2 separate regions of the Homo sapiens genome follow, and region 2 is linked to region 1. The links are contacts of gene promoters, found by promoter capture Hi-C in blood cells and fetal thymus (Javierre and others, 2016). All regions are on one chromosome and are shown on one strand. Each heading gives the region's core, a stretch centred on a gene start or on the middle of the fragment in contact. The rest is flanking DNA. Distances are from core to core; before and after follow the strand shown.

The links. The method cuts DNA at HindIII sites, captures the fragments that hold promoters and counts their contacts. A CHiCAGO score of 5 or more calls a contact.
Region 2: a contact is called between a fragment that was not itself captured here and the fragment with the promoter of DNAJC3 in region 1, in 1 of 17 cell types (non-activated CD4 T cells). The highest score is 5.3, in non-activated CD4 T cells.

Annotation. Positions count from the first base shown.
Region 1 is chr13:95,672,684-95,680,396 of GRCh38, reverse strand. It overlaps DNAJC3 (DnaJ heat shock protein family (Hsp40) member C3), which reads right to left and starts at 3,258. Exons shown (of 12, transcript NM_006260.5): 1 at 3,060-3,258. The coding sequence starts at 3,141. It overlaps DNAJC3-DT (DNAJC3 divergent transcript), which reads left to right and starts at 3,472. Exons shown (of 2, transcript NR_132117.1): 1 at 3,472-4,545; 2 at 5,729-7,562. RefSeq lists silencers at 2,878-2,967, 3,198-3,437 and enhancers at 3,078-3,127, 2,474-3,320, 3,958-4,057, 3,321-4,168. The HindIII fragment of the contact is 3,320 bases long and covers 1,791-5,110 here.
Region 2 is chr13:102,847,921-102,855,633 of GRCh38, reverse strand. It overlaps BIVM-ERCC5 (BIVM-ERCC5 readthrough), which reads right to left. Exons shown (of 23, transcript NM_001204425.2): 10 at 3,341-3,516; 11 at 1,762-1,877; 12 at 1,260-1,346. It overlaps ERCC5 (ERCC excision repair 5, endonuclease), which reads right to left. Exons shown (of 15, transcript NM_000123.4): 2 at 3,341-3,516; 3 at 1,762-1,877; 4 at 1,260-1,346. Among named protein-coding and RNA genes, the nearest start is that of ERCC5, 5.7 kb to the right of the region's middle. The HindIII fragment of the contact is 2,954 bases long and covers 2,167-5,120 here.

The sequences.
Region 1 (7,713 bases), core at 2,009-4,508:
GTTCAAATAAAACTTATCACAATATTTTATACGTATAGATTTTCAACTATATATTTTCAACTATTCTTTTCCCCATGGCCAAAATATATGGTTTAATCAGCTCAATGAAATAAAGAAAAATTGGGTCCAGATAGCATGTTAAGGAAGAAAAAGAGATAAAACTATGATAAGAGAAAAAAGGTTTCGTTCCCAGGCTGTGTTGCTACTCAAGTCACCAAGAGGACAAACCATTAGCAAAGAAATGAAATAACTTCCTTATCTGTAACATGAGAATACTAAAGCAGATACTACTAAAGTTTTCTTTCTATTCCAAAAATTCGATCTCATCTAGTGCTTTAGACTTCACTCTTTCAAACGCCTTTGAGAAGGGAGGGTGCCAAAAGACTCAAACTTTCAATTCATGATATATACTTTCTGTCTCTGGATGACAATTAACAGAAAAATCTAGAAGAAAACAAAGGCAAATATTTCAAAATCAGAAAAACACTAGGTTATCTCTTCCCCATCCTGTGCCACTCTTAGTTCCACATTCACTTCTCTCATAACCATTCTCCTTCATTTCTTTTTTTAAAAGTGAATTGTATTGTATATATTTGATGTTTACAACATAGTATTATGAGATATACACACATAAAATGGTTACAATAGTGAAGCAGATTAATAAGAGTGAAGCAGATTAATATATCTATCATCTCACATAATTACTTTTTGTGTGACAAGAGCAGCTAAAACCTACCTATTTAACAAAAATCCTTAATACAACACAATTTTATTAAGCCTCAGGCCTAGCAGTAGCACCATTTGCCTTTCAGAGAACTATGAGATTAGTGAATCCAGACACAATTTATTTGGGAAAACAGGGGCTAACGGTTTGCTAATTCAAGTCAGAGTTCTTACCTTTATATCCCTATCACCAAATCCAGTGTCAAATACATAGCAGACACCTAATTTAACTCCTCTATATAATTTATTACACCAGTGGTTCTCAAGTGTGGTCATCCAGGGTCTTTCTAGAAACGCAAAATTTCAGGTCCCATCAAGACCTAATGAATCAAACTCTGTAAGTGGGGTACAGCACTCTGTTTTAAAAAGCCCTCCATGTGCGATTCTGATGCACACTCAAGTTTGAGAACCACTGTATTAAACCTCCCAGGAAATAACCTTCTTGTTAATTACAAAAAAAAAAAAAAAAAAAAAGTGCTGATTTTTTTTCTCAGCTGCCATCACTTAAAAGTGCTTGGACTCACATGATGTTGTCAACTACTTAACTTCTGTCTCCAGCGTGCACACAAAATGAACTTTAGTAAAACCTTTGGAGCCTCAGTTCCCTGGTCTGTAAAGTAGGAATGAATACCACACGCTTTCGTGAATAAGATATGGCTTACAGAAAGGCTCCTTTCTTTCCTTTTTCTGTTACCTGTACTAAGTCCCTGCTATTTTACACAGACAATGGTCCTAAAGAAGACACTCTGGCACTCCTCTGAGAAATGTCACCAGTGCCTCCTACACAGAAAAGCTCTCAAATGTGGTTTTCTTATGGAAAATACCACAGGAGGGAAATGAAGAGTTAAGAGTCCTTACAGACTCATATACAGAACAGCAATTCTAAAAAGTAGTGGGAAAAGCAATCATTCAAAATTGTGCATCTCTGTAACTTAAAAAAAAAAATCACCATTAAACAGAACATAGGCAACTTTCTCTTAAGTGTCCAAAATAAATTATTAATGATAACTGGAGATAAATACTACAGATGAGGGATGGTGGGGTGCGGGGGCAGGAGGAATGAAGCTTTTGAAAATGCAAAAGAACTAGAATATATGACCCATATTAAAGTGGTACAGACCTTCAAATTCCAATCCCCTAGATTTTTCTGGGGGCAGCCTCACTGTCAAATTCTTTGTCCCAATGTTGCCACACTACGTGTTCTGATTTGGGGTTCAAAAAATATGGTTACCAGGGGAAGCAAAAGCAAAAGCCCATTGCTATGGGTGACACCTAAAAACTGGGGAGTACTACTTTAAAAAAAAAAGTTGAGAACTTTCAGAAGAATTCACTATAAACAATTCCCAATTTTTAGTTCCTCGCTCCCTTTGAATGGAATACTCAAAGGTTTAATTTGACCTCCTTGACAACTAGCCCTTTTTATGGGGATGAAAATAGATCAGTGCATGTGATGTGTCATTACACTCGAATATTTCGCACAGTAACCGCGCCAGAAGCATTCGTTAAATCGGCACTATCAACTTTAATTCTTACTCCTCCCCGCTGCCATCTAAGATAGGACAGCCCTCTATTTTCGCTATTCTGGAGTAGCCAACATTCCAGTCTGCAGGACTGAAGTGAAATTTAATCGTTCGTATCTTTTTAAGGGAACCTTTTTACAGCGAACTTGGAAAAGTAATGCCAGCCATACGTTGAATGACACCATGTTGGGAGTTGTAAAACCACAAACTCAGTGCCTGGCCGTCCGGGAGATGGAATTCCAACAGCGGCTCCTCATTGCACCAAACTAACAATTTCTCTACACGACAGTGCATCTTAATGGGGATGGTTACACACTTTTTAAATAGTCAACACTGTCCCCTCCAACTCCCAGCCGGACATGACACTCCTTCCCCACCCAAGAACTCCAGAGCGAAGGAAGTCTTTTGGCCACCTTAGTGCCTCCTCCCAGCCAGCACCAATGACTGACAGTGTCCCCAGGCGCCCAGCGAGGGTCCCAAGCGAGGCCAGGACCCAAAGGCTGCCCAAGTCTCCGCGTCCCAGGACTTCCTGAAGTCGTAGCCCGGTGCCCCCGCACCCCGCCTCCTCCGACTCCTGCGGCCCGGTTCCTTAGTCCAAACCCGCTGTCCCGGCCCCGCGGCCCGCCAGTCCCCTCGATTCTTCCCCAGACAAACCCGGAACCGGGCGCGGGCTCAGGCCCAAGCCAGGCCGCGGGCTCCCCCAGCGCTCGCCCCACCTCCCGAGCCGCTCCGGGACAGGCGCCCGGGCGCAGACGGGAAAGCGCGGGGGGCCTGGTCCGGGAGCCCACTTCCTGGCCGGGGCAGGGCAGGACTCACCTTCGTACTGCAGATCCACCAGGACTAGCAGGAAGGGGAATACCGAGCCCAGCCGGCTGGTCACGGAGCCGGGGGCCACCATGTCCGAGGGCTCGCGAGTGAAGAGGAGGAAAGGTGTGTGGCCCACCAGCACGCGCCGGCGCTCCGGCAGCAGCTGCGCCCGCCCGCCGTCGGCTCTCGCTCAGGCCTCAGTGGCTCTGGAGCCCAGCAGAGGAAGGCAGCGGTGGGCGGGGCCCGGGCGACGCTACGCCCCAGAGCGCCGCCGCCATCCAATCGCCTTCTTTCTGGCGGCTTTCCTCCCGGGCTCGCCGGGGTCGTGGTTCGCGCTGATAGGCTGCGGAGGCCGCCGCCCCGCCCCGTCCCTGATAGGATAACGTGGAAGCACGAGACGAGGCTGCGCCCGCCGGTCGCAGAGCTGTCAGCAAGCTCCAAACCGCGGCTGCCGCCCGGAGGGAAGCAGACGGGGAGTCGGTGGCGGCCGCCGAGTCCGCATGCGCAGGCTGCAAAGGCCCTTTTGGGCCGGTCCCGCCGCGCTAGGTTGGCGAGTGGGACTATTTGATCCTTTCCAGGTTCGCCAGCGTGGTGTTACGAGAGGAAAGCGCAGCCGCAGCGTACGAATGGGAAGGCCAAACACGGTCCCGGGGAGTCTGAGGGAAGCTGCAGGGCGCCTGGAATTGGGGTCTCGAGTGAGCCGGTAAAAACCGCCTCCCGCTGAGCGTCCCGGAACAAATACTGTCTGAACTGAGCCGTAAGCAAGAAACGGTCAGGAGAAGCTGGGGCGATCTGATGATTAGAACATTTCAGGGACTACCAGAGAGAAGTGCGTAATTGCTCTAAGGCAGGTAGGTAATTGGCCTGGAAACTTGGGAACGCCCCGCCCCCCACCCCGACTTTCAGCAAACCACCGTGCCCAGGAAAAAGAGCGATTGTGGAAGACCCTGTGAAGAAGAGACCAGGAAGGCACTGTGGCTTAAGAGAGCAAGGCGTTCCTGAATGCAGCCAACATCAACTGGTAAACAAAAAACTGTGAGAACGGATCCTGAATCTTGCGCTTACCAGGGGAAATTCAGGAGAGATATGAACCTGAGCAAGATGAGGTTGAAGTTACTCAATGCGGCATTAAGCCTGTTCACGGCCACTTCCTCCGGCGTCACCAACACACACACTGTACACCAGCAGTATTTTTACACGGGGTATGTGTGTTAAGTACTATCAGGTGGATAATTATTACTTCACCTGTATTTGCTGCCTTGATACCATTAGAGAAACTCATGAATTATAAATAGCATAGTGAATTTGTGATTCCCTGAAGATATACTAAGGTGGACTTTTAAAAAGGCTTCTATTCCAAAGGGAACTAATATGGAGGAAATGGTTTCGAGAAAGAAAAAAGAAAAAACGGAGTCCTTGATTAGTTGTGGGGAAGGCAACATAATGTAATGTGAAGAATAAAGGAGTCAGATCCAGGAAACCCCATAACTATTATGTAAGTTATCTTCATCTGTAAAGTGGTTAGGATCCTGATAGTCTCAAAGGTTTGTTTTGAGGTTTCATGAAGCAGATAAATATTCTTGTAAATTGTAGAATGTTATACCAGTGTTACTCATTATTCTAACAAGAGCAGAGTAGTGAAGAGAGGCTCCTTCAGAAATTCCTTGGGATTTTTTTTTTTTTGGCTTCTGTTTTTTTATATCACAAGGTAGTGTCTCTGAAAAATGGTAGATGATTTCAATGTCCACAAATATGCAGGTGTAGACATTCAATTGAGGTACTGTACCCAAGGCAGCCAGCAAAATGCTGAACATAGAAAATAACTTTGTAAACAAAATGCAATATTTCTAGACAGTGAGTTATCACCAGTGTGCTGCCTATGACCCTGGCCTTAAGGAAAAAGTAGCAGAGCTGAAGAAGTTCTAAGGATGGAAATTAAAAATTATTAAGGAGATAATAGACTTCGTGTTATAGGAAATAAAAATAGCAAGGGTCTTCAATGGTGAGTGATTTTGAGATTAATTACATAACTATGAATTCTGTAATATTAGAACTAAGCTTTACAAAGCATTCCTTAAAAAAAGATAATTTTACAACAAAGGTAACATTAGACAGAAAAAAATGTACAAAACTAAAATTAAGTGATTAATGCTTGGGAATGTTTCCTCCAATGTTCATCTAGTCATGGTTTTCACGAATCACTCTTGCCAATAAAACCGAAAATCAAAGTAATCTAGTGAGTGTAAGAAAAGTTACTGTAAATATGTTTGCATTCGTCAGACTCTATGGAGTCTTTTTGAAGTTAAACATTAAATCTCCACTGTAATTCATACTGTTAATTATAGTAGCAAAAGACTTAAAAAACAATGGTAGCATATTTATGATATATCCAAAATTAAGAGTATTATGCAATTTTTATTAGGTTGATCTATGTTTATTGACTAGGAAAAACAATGTTGGTAGAGAGGAGTGAACAGATCTAGAACATATTTTGTAGGTAAAGGGAATAAGATTTGTTTAGGAATTAACTATGAGGAGAAATAAATGTTCAGAAACAAGTAGAGCACTTATAAACACCTTTTTGTGCCAAATTAAGAACAAAAAAGTCAGCATTAAGTTAATGCCACCATATACATCCTTCCACATTTATGTTTACAAACTTGTGCTTTTATTTCTAGGAAACATTTCTAGGCTGGGCGCAGTGGCTCACACCTGTAATGCTAGCGCTTTGGGAAGCCAAGATGGGAGGATTATTTGAGGCCGGGAGTTTGCGACCAGCCTGAGCAACATAGCAGGATCCTGTCTCTGCAAAAAAATTTAAAACTAGCCAGGTGCGGTGGCTCGTGCCTGTTGCCCTAGCTACTCAGGGAGACTGAGGCAGAGGATTGCTTCAACCCAGGAGTTTGAGGTTGCAGTGAGCTAAGATCATGTCACTGCACTCCAGACTGAGCAACAGAGTGACACTTTATAAAAAAAAAAAAAAAAAAAACTAGGTTTTTGAACTTGCTTAATCAAAGAATTTGTTTAAACTTTTAAGATGCGTTGTCAGATTATCTTTCCCTAAAGGAATAATTTCTATTCCTATCAGCTGTTTATATTCCTGCCTAGTCACCATCACTAGATATAATTGATTTTCAGTTTTTGCCAATCTGAGGAACAAAAAATGACCCTTATATGTCAAATTTACAGTTTATTTTCAAGGATTTTGGGATTCTGATCAAATTTTGGTACCTTCATATAAAATTTGGCTTTTATATCACATCTTGTCTTCTCTGCTTTCCACCCTCTTTTATGTTGTTTTTTGGCTTCTGGCCGCATGACTATAATCTCCGCTTTTGTATTCACATCACCTTCTGTCATTTTTGACCTTGCCTCCGTCTTACAAGGATCCTTGTAATTAATTATATTGGGCCTGCTGAGATAATCCAGGATATTCTTCCTACTCAAGTTCCTCAATTTAATCACATCTGCAAAAACTGCCTTTTGCTATAGAACAATGACAGGAGATTAGAATGTAAACATATTTGGGGGACCGTTATTCAGCTTAACACAATACGTCCCCCTTCATCAGGTGGAGCTTATTTTCCCTCCTTCCTTGAGTGTGGGCTGGACTTAGTGACTAACTTCCAAAGAACAGAGTATGGAAAGGGAGGAGGAGAGTAACTTCATAGTACAGAAACCTGGAAACACTGTCTTGGCCAGGTGGTCAAAGTTAATATCATCAAGTCATGTTGATAGCATATACTCCCAATATACTGTGATGAGAAGGGCAATTCACCTCTGTGGTATTCTCAAAACCTATAACCCAATCTAGTCTAAACATGAAAAAAAAAAAATCAAACTAAAATTGAAGGACATTCTATAAAACACCTGATCAGTATTCCTCAAAACTATCAACGTCGTGGGGAACAAGGAAAGATTGAAATACTGTAACAGACCAGAGGAAACTAAGGAAACTTAATTGATGACTGAATGCAGTGTGCTGTGTTGAACTGGATCCTAGAGAAAATAGACATTAGTGGAAAAACTACTGAAATATGAATAGTCTCAAGTTTAATAGTAGTGTACCATTATTACTTTCTTAGTTTTGACAAATGTACCATGGTTATGCAAGATGCTAACAATACAGAAAAATAAGGGGTATTTGGGACCTCCCTGTATTATCCTTATGCCCTTACTTGAAAGTTGTTTCAGCAATAGAAGTTTATTTAAAATATTGTGAAGGGCCTGAGTATTTTTAAATCAACTGCAGTGACTCTCTTTTGTGTATTTGTGTACAGATGAGTTTTTCTGCATCGAATTTTATCTCCTTTCCTTGCAGAAGAAAGAGAATTAGCCCTTTACAGAGATAACAGTTGCCTAAGCCAGCTCTTTTCTCCTCTTTTTGATGTTCTTCTTTTTCTCTCAGTTTGAAAATTGTAGGTTATTTGAGTTTTTAAAATGTCTATTGCTACATACACATTCTAGTTATATTCTAGTCCAAACAATCTAGTAAAATATCTAAAAGAAAAATGCTGTTCACTGTATTTTTTATTTTTAAAATGTGAGTGAGTGCATTTAAATAATAGGTTGTGTTATTATAATTATGAGCTAAAAGTTTTGAAGTGTGATTTAAAGAGTCTTTAACATTACAATTCTGGACTACAAAGTGTAAAAATTGTAT
Region 2 (7,713 bases), core at 2,394-4,893, 7.2 Mb before region 1:
TGGATGATGTGAAGAAAGGCAGGGATAAGACTGGAAAGTGTAATTAAGGAGTTAAAGTTTTATCCTAAAGAAATGAGAAGCTAAGCTGCGTGTGGTGGCTCACGCCTGCAATCCCAGCACTTTGGGAGGCCGAGGCAGGTGGATCACTTGAGGTCAGGAGTTCGAGACCAGCCTGGACAACATGGTGAAACCTCGTCTCTACTAAAAATACAAAAAATTAGCCAGGTGTGGTGGCACGTGCCTGTAATCCCAGCTACTCCGGAGGCTGAGGCAGGAGAATCGCTTAAACCCAGGAGGCAGGGGTTGCAGTGAGCTGAGATTGTGCCACTGCACTCCAGTCTGGGCAACAGAGACTCCATCTCAAAAAAAAAAGAAAGAAAAAAATGAGAAGGAGAAGCTAGAAAGTGTTTTAAGTAAGGAAATGACAATATCAGATTTGGATTTTAAACAGACTATAACACAAAACAGAGATTGGGCTTGGTGGGAGGAACTATTACAAAAAGGGTATGATCAAAGACAAAGACAGAAAGAAGTTTAAAAGCTAATAATGTAACCTGGAGAAAAAATGACAGTGGTAGCAATGGAGACAAATAGAACTGAGCTGATACAAAAGCTAAGTTGTCTCTTGGGAACTCCTGGGAAAGGAAGAGGTGGAGGGAAGGACAGGGGACAAAGGCAAACTGCCAAGCTTCCGGTTCTCCACCTTCACTTCAAACACAGAAACCACCAACCATTAAGAGAGAGACAGAGGAAGAGGAGTCCACAGAGAGGCTGAGCAGAAAGCGCCAGAGAGATGCCGGGGGAGCGGGGCAGTGTGGCATGGTGTTTAGTGCAGAGAAGTCGAGCACACTAAGACGTGCAAAGCGTCTGCTAGATTTAGCAACAAGAATGTCATGGGTTGTGGTATTTTAGCATCATGGTGAGAGAGACCATACTGGATTGAAAAGCAGCTAGAGACAGCATGTGTAAGCAAAGTGTAAGCAAAACTAAAATTCATGCCTTGGAGAATTTAGAATCCACAGCCCTGGCAGAAGTTCTTTAGAATGAAGAGGAATAAGAATCATGAATCACCAAAACACAAAGAATAGTAAATAAAAAATTTAGTCTTTGAAAAATATTCTGAAAGGTATAGAGCATGCCTATTTCAGATGCATTAAGAAATGTTCACATGCCTTATCATGTAGATAACACATCAAGGTTTAAATGTGTCTGAATGTAGCAATGACTAAAATAATATTCTTAAATAGTTAAACATTTACCTGTGTTTTTCTTCCTCTTGTAAAGGAGGCAAAACATAGAGGTCGTTTTCTCTTCGAACTTGGGTAAGACTGGGTAGTGCTTCATCTCTGGAAAGTACACAAATCTTTAAACAGATTATGCAGACCCTGCTCAGGATGGTGAACAGGGACCTGACCTGGCTGCTCTCAGGCCACTGCTGTGGAAAATAAATGCAGCCGAGAGAAAGGAAGGAACCTTGGCGGGGCTGCTCACCTAGAGTCAAGAAGACCATAATCAAAGTAAAAAGTGTACATGACGCAACACGACAGCTTTTTTTTCTCATTAGCAAAGTTGATTCTCACAGAACGGAGAATTGCCACAACTCCAAATTACCAGGTCAAAATGGCAGCCTACTTGTCTCATTTCACTCTCTATTTTCTGTTGAGAGTCAAAATTAGATAGGGAAAGAGAATCGCAGGAAATCAAGACAAAAATCACTTTTTTAAAACTTCATCTCTAACACGACTATAATTTTCCTCTTGCCTTTTGCTTCTGAAGGCAGTTTTGATGGCTTGTCTTTTCAAAAATGTTTTCAGAAGCTTCTCTGTCGTTTTCCTGGAGTCACTGGACGCTAAGTCCTTTCTCTGCCTTCTCTTCACCTATGAGAAGAAAGGATGTAAGATCTCACTTCAGGATATTAGACCACTAGAAACATTGCTGTGATTTATTTTCCAGAGAATTTGGTTTGTCTGAGTTTTCAGACTATGGCTGCTTTAGCATTTCCTCCTAATTGCCATATCAGTGTATATCTTCAGGTTGCTGCTACGTAAAGGACACCCAGAGTTTCCATCTATTACTTAATGGGCTACTACACAATATATTTGGGAAACTTAATTTACTTTCAGTTTCTTTTAAATGTCTTTTAATATGCCCAAGAAGTGGAAAGCTTAAATGCTTCCCAAAAGAAATTATTTATTTATTCTATAAAATGTCACAGTGACACCAAAAACAATTTCTAATATTGCTTTTTATAAACATGCATTACTTACATGTAATTCTGCCCTTCAATATTCAAGATTATATATCATGAGAAATTCTAAAATGTATAGAAATATCTTGTAAGAAATGTTCAAGTAGTGACAAATGGATAGTCCCTGTGCTTATGGCTGAATATCGGATAAAAATAACCAAGATATTCTCTTTTCCTTTCTAATCCTTCCACAAAGTACCTGATTTACAGTATGCCTTGGGTAACTGAAAACTGCAACATTCAAGACTAGACACTCTTACTGAGGCAACAAAGGTCCCCCAGCATTTATAAATGCTTTTTATTTTTATCCTATATCCTTACTTTTATCCTATATCCTCATTTAGAGAGTATCTGGTATGATTACAAAGTCATCATTTCATTACTTTGGTATTTTCAACAAATAAAAGTCATATATCCAAATGGGTGCTGTCATTTGGACTGTTTAAACATTATTTTATGTCATTTTTTTAGAGATGGGGTCTCCCTGTGTTGCCCAGGCTGGACTTGGGCTCAAGCAATCCTCCTGCCCCCGGCCTTCCAAAAACATTTTTTAAAACTACTTCCAGAACAATAAAGCAGCAACTCATTCTGACTCTTCTATATCATGGTCAATTTCCTTCCTAGATAATCCACTTTAGTCACCACTTGGCACCACATAACATTGCTTACTCCTAAAATCCAATTCCCCTTAAAAGAAGGCTTGCTATCACGGAGGATACTTGATCTCAGATTCAGGGAGGCACTTCCCAAAAGAGGGTTTCCACAGTGTTCTGAGTGATGGCCGCATCCTTGAAATAAATATAAAACACCTAACAAGATCCTCTGAAGGGAAAACTCTCAACAGCAAGGTTTTTAGTAGTTAGTTTTATTTAAAAGTTAAATTTTATCATTGTACCCATGATGAACTCTCATAAAACTTTTTAAAAGAAAAATTAATTGTTCAAGATAAAAAAGTAGATGTAATTAAGTATGTGTCAAAATAAGTCTGTTTCTAAAATTCTAAAGAGAAAACAAAAATTTTATGTGAATTTTTCTAAGAATGCAGAAAGAAAAAAATTATTTGACACTTACTAAAAACTATACGACACTTACCAAAGTCTGTTTCTTCAATAGTGGAGCATCCCCATCAAACACAAAAATAGGACGAATTCGAAAAAATAAGAGTTTGCAGAGCCGATGAAACAAAGTGAGAAGATGAGGATTTTCTATTGAGTTCCCATGGCGATCCCGGACTCCTTTAAGTGCTTGGTTTAACCAAATGCTAATATCTGGGAGAATTGTTAATGGAAAAAACTCCGGGATTTTTCTCTTCATCCTCACAACTTCAATTTCCTAATAACTGATATTATCCAAACGTTGAACACTAAATACTTATCACTATTCATTTAAAATTGAAAAACATTTAGCTCTCATGGGATCTACCTAAAGTCAGTTAACTTTTAGTTGAACTCTTGTTACCCCTATTCACATACTGCATTTTAAAATCATACAAAGACAGACATATCCTTTTAAGAAGTCTCATTGCAAAGAATTGCTTCTTTAAAAAAAAATAAGTGATTGCTAAAGAATTTTCATGAATTAGCACAAATTTTCTGGAGGACAATTTGACAATTCATAGTGAAAAAAACTTTTTAAAACTTTGCAGTCTATTTTACCACTTCCAGACATTGATCCTCAGAAAATCATCATGGATATATAATGAGAGTTATTTACAGAATGCTTGTTTATAATAATGAAAATATAAAAATCAACTTAAAAGTTTTCCAGCAGGTCTTTTTAAAAAACTAATCATAGGCCGGGCGCGGTGGCTCACACCTGTAATCCCAGCACTTTGGGAGGCCGAGGCAGGTGGATCACGAGATCAAGAGATCGAGACCATCCTGGCCAACATGGTGAAACCCCATCTCTACTAAAAATACAAAAATTGGCTGGGCATGGTGGTGCGCACCTGTAGTCCCAGCTACTCAGGAGGCTGAGGCAGGAGAATCGCTTGAACCCAGGAGGCAGAGGTTGCAGTGAGCCGAGATCGCGCCACTGCACTCCAGCCTGGTGACAGAGCAAGACTCCGTCTCAAAAAAGAAAAACTAATTATGGCAGACCTATTTGCTGGAATACCAAAAAGCCCTTAAAAATGGAAGTTGCAGGAGCATGTGTGATAAGGAAGATAGTCATTAAATATTATTAAAGATAGTAAAACAGGCTATAAAACCATATAAAGTATAACTCCATTTTCTGATACAGTATATATGTTAAATATAAAAAACTAGTTCACATACCAAAATATTAAAGTAGATATTATGTCTGCTGAGACTAAAGATAACTTATATTTTCATCTTGAAGTTTTCTTATATTTTTAAACTTTTCTAAAAAGTGCTTCTCAAAAAATGTTATATTTGTCCAAAAGAAAGAGTGACACCGCGCTCTGCTGGTTTTCCTGCTCTCAGACTCTTTGCCAGCTCCTGTAACACTGTTAAAGTATTCACTTCATCAGTGATCTTTCTCAGGCCCTCTTCTTTCCTCCTGTCTGAACTATCAACCTCCACTCCCCTCCACATACACCACGCCCTGACTCCATGTATATGTCTGGCCCAGAGCACGCTCCTGACCCCAGAACAGAGAGCCCAGATGACGTCTCTACCCCATACCTCATAGACATTTCAAACTTAACATGATCAAAACTGAACTCCATGTCTTCTCCACTCAGCTGCTCATGCCCCCATCTCAGTGAATGTCCCTGCCATTCACCTGAGCCAGAATGCTGGGCATCACCACCTATAGCTATTACCAGGTCTATCAATTCTATCTTCTAATGTATCTTGAAGGTATATACTAGATTTCACCAACGTATCTTTGGTGAAAACCCTCCAAAGCTTCCCACTGCCTTCAAGATACTATCTAAAACTTCTTCTCCTGGTCTAGGAAGCCTTGAATGATCTGGCCTCTGCTCACTTCCTGCTACTGGGCTTTCCTCAAACCCAGAAATCACTAAGCTCCTTCCTGCCTCCAGGTTCTTCTCACATGCTGCTTCCTCTGCCTGAAACAGTTTCTCCCTCTCTCCGCCTAGTTCTCTCCTACTCTAAGGTCTCAGTCCAGGGGTCCCCTCCTCAGTCTAGATGAAGACATCCTCCTTGTATACATTCCTATTTAAAAAATATATTGAGGCCGAGTGCGGTAGCTCACACTTGTAATCCCAGCACTTTGGGAGGCCAAGGCGGGCAGACCACCTGAGGTCAGGAGATCGAGACCATCCTGGCCAAAATGGTGAAATCCTGTCTCTACTAAAAATACAAAAATTAGCCAGGCATGGTGGCGTGTGCCTATAAGGCTGAGGCAGGAGAATCGATTGAACCTGGGAGGCGAAGGTTGCAGTGAGCCAAGATCACGCCACTGCACTCGAGCCTGCGTAACAGAGGGAGACTCTGTCTCAAAAAAAAACAAAAAGAAAAAAAAAACAGAGAGAAACCTGGACTGATGCTAATATTTGCAGGTAAATTTCTAACATAGGAAAAGAACATTGAAGGGGCCACCTATCACGTTATTTCTGTTTTTATTATGTGGCAGCATTTTTTCTATGCACTGGCATATCCAGTGCACTGAACAAAACACAGTATTGGCCCTATGGAGTTTATAATCTAGCAGGGAAAAAACCCAGCCTGTGTGCTCCATGGCTTGCCCGGGCAATTTGTGCACTGCACTCCCTTTCACAGGGACTCTTATACACAATAAATATCTGCTATTAAATAAGTTGAACAGTTTAGTATTTAAATGAATGTACACTGCCTAACTTTTACTAACATAAAAAAAAATGTAGGTCCATCAACAATTAATTTACAAAACACTATGTAACAAAATACCTAGTGGAAAGCAAGCTACTGCTATGCTTATTTCTATAATATTTAGCAATACCATGGGCCAGGCATATCCAAGACCCTAGGGATATACACCAAACAATTCAGCCATGAACAAAACAGAGACGGTCCCTATCTCCAGGAAGCCAGTGCAGCAGGACAAAAGGAATGGCAGGAGGTGATACGGCCACTGGGAAGTTTCTAGAACATGATTTAAGGATAACTTTGATGAACATGTGAAGAACAGATTATAAGGAAACCAGTTCTAAAATGAGTTACAATAGCCCAAGTTAACGCAGACAGTAGTGGTGGAGACCACGAGAAGAGATCGGATAAAAGATACATCTCAGAGGTAGAACTTGGTGTTGATGTGCATCTGTCTTGTATTAGATCGATGTTTCTGCTTGCTACAAGTATAGTCTGGAAAAGCCATGAAGCTCACTATTACATAGGATTAAATTAGTTTCTACTTGGCCCACTACTTTAAACTTTAACTTCAGTGAGGAAATCTAGTTTCAGATCAGTGGCTCTCATCCCTGCTATCCATTAGAATAGGATATGAAGCTTCTGAAACATACGGATTATTAAACCCCATGGGCCTAAAATTCTAAATCATAGAGACTGAGGTAGGACTTCTTTTATTTTTTATTTTTCAATTAACTACAGGTAATGCCAATTCTCAGCTAGGGTTGAGAATTTTGGCTTGAATTCTTAGAGATGAAATATGTAAAATTAGACGACCTGAAAATATTCACATAAATTGTTAGACAAGAAATATGAAAAATGAGACAATCTGAAAATATTTGTATAATTTGACTTGTCTAATTTCAGTAAGTTTATATACGCAAAATTAAATTTCTGCGGACAGAAAAGTTAAAATCTGCAGCAAAGCCAAAAATCACTTTCGGTATAAGACCCAAAGACCAATAACATTTCAATACAAAAAATAAGTTTCTTTAGTTCTTTAGTTAGGTGACTTAAAAATCTCCATTAGTATACATAGCCTAAAGAGATGGTAATATCTTGCTAATACACTTAAACGCATATTACAAACATTAAAATCTATAAGAGACAAAAGTTTAACTTACTTCTGCATTATTTGACACAGACATTTAGACTGTATAAATAAGACACTAAGCTATATAGATGGTTTAAAGACCAAACAATTTAGTATAGAGATACAAGAGTAAATTATGAAACTAGTATAATAACGGGTAAGTTTGTCATTAACAAACAATACAATAAAATCTAAATAATTTCAGGTGTCTGAATTCCCGTGAAAATGAAATAAAGCAAAACCGATTGTAGAACAAGTAATCAGATATACTCCTTTGACATAAACGAGTTTATTATAAATATATGAGGTTGTCATGACTAGAATGTCTTTCACAGTCCTTTTTATTTATTTATTCAGAGACAGACATGAACACGGCTCATTGCAGCCTTGACCGCCTGGGCCCAAGCAATCTTCCTGCCTCAGCCTTCCGTGTAGCTGGGACCAAAGGTGCAGGCCACCACGTCCAGCTAATTTTTTGACTGTGTGTAGACAGGGGTTCACTATGTTGCCCAGGCTGGTCTTGAACTCCTGGGCTCAAATGATCCTCCTGCCTTGACCTC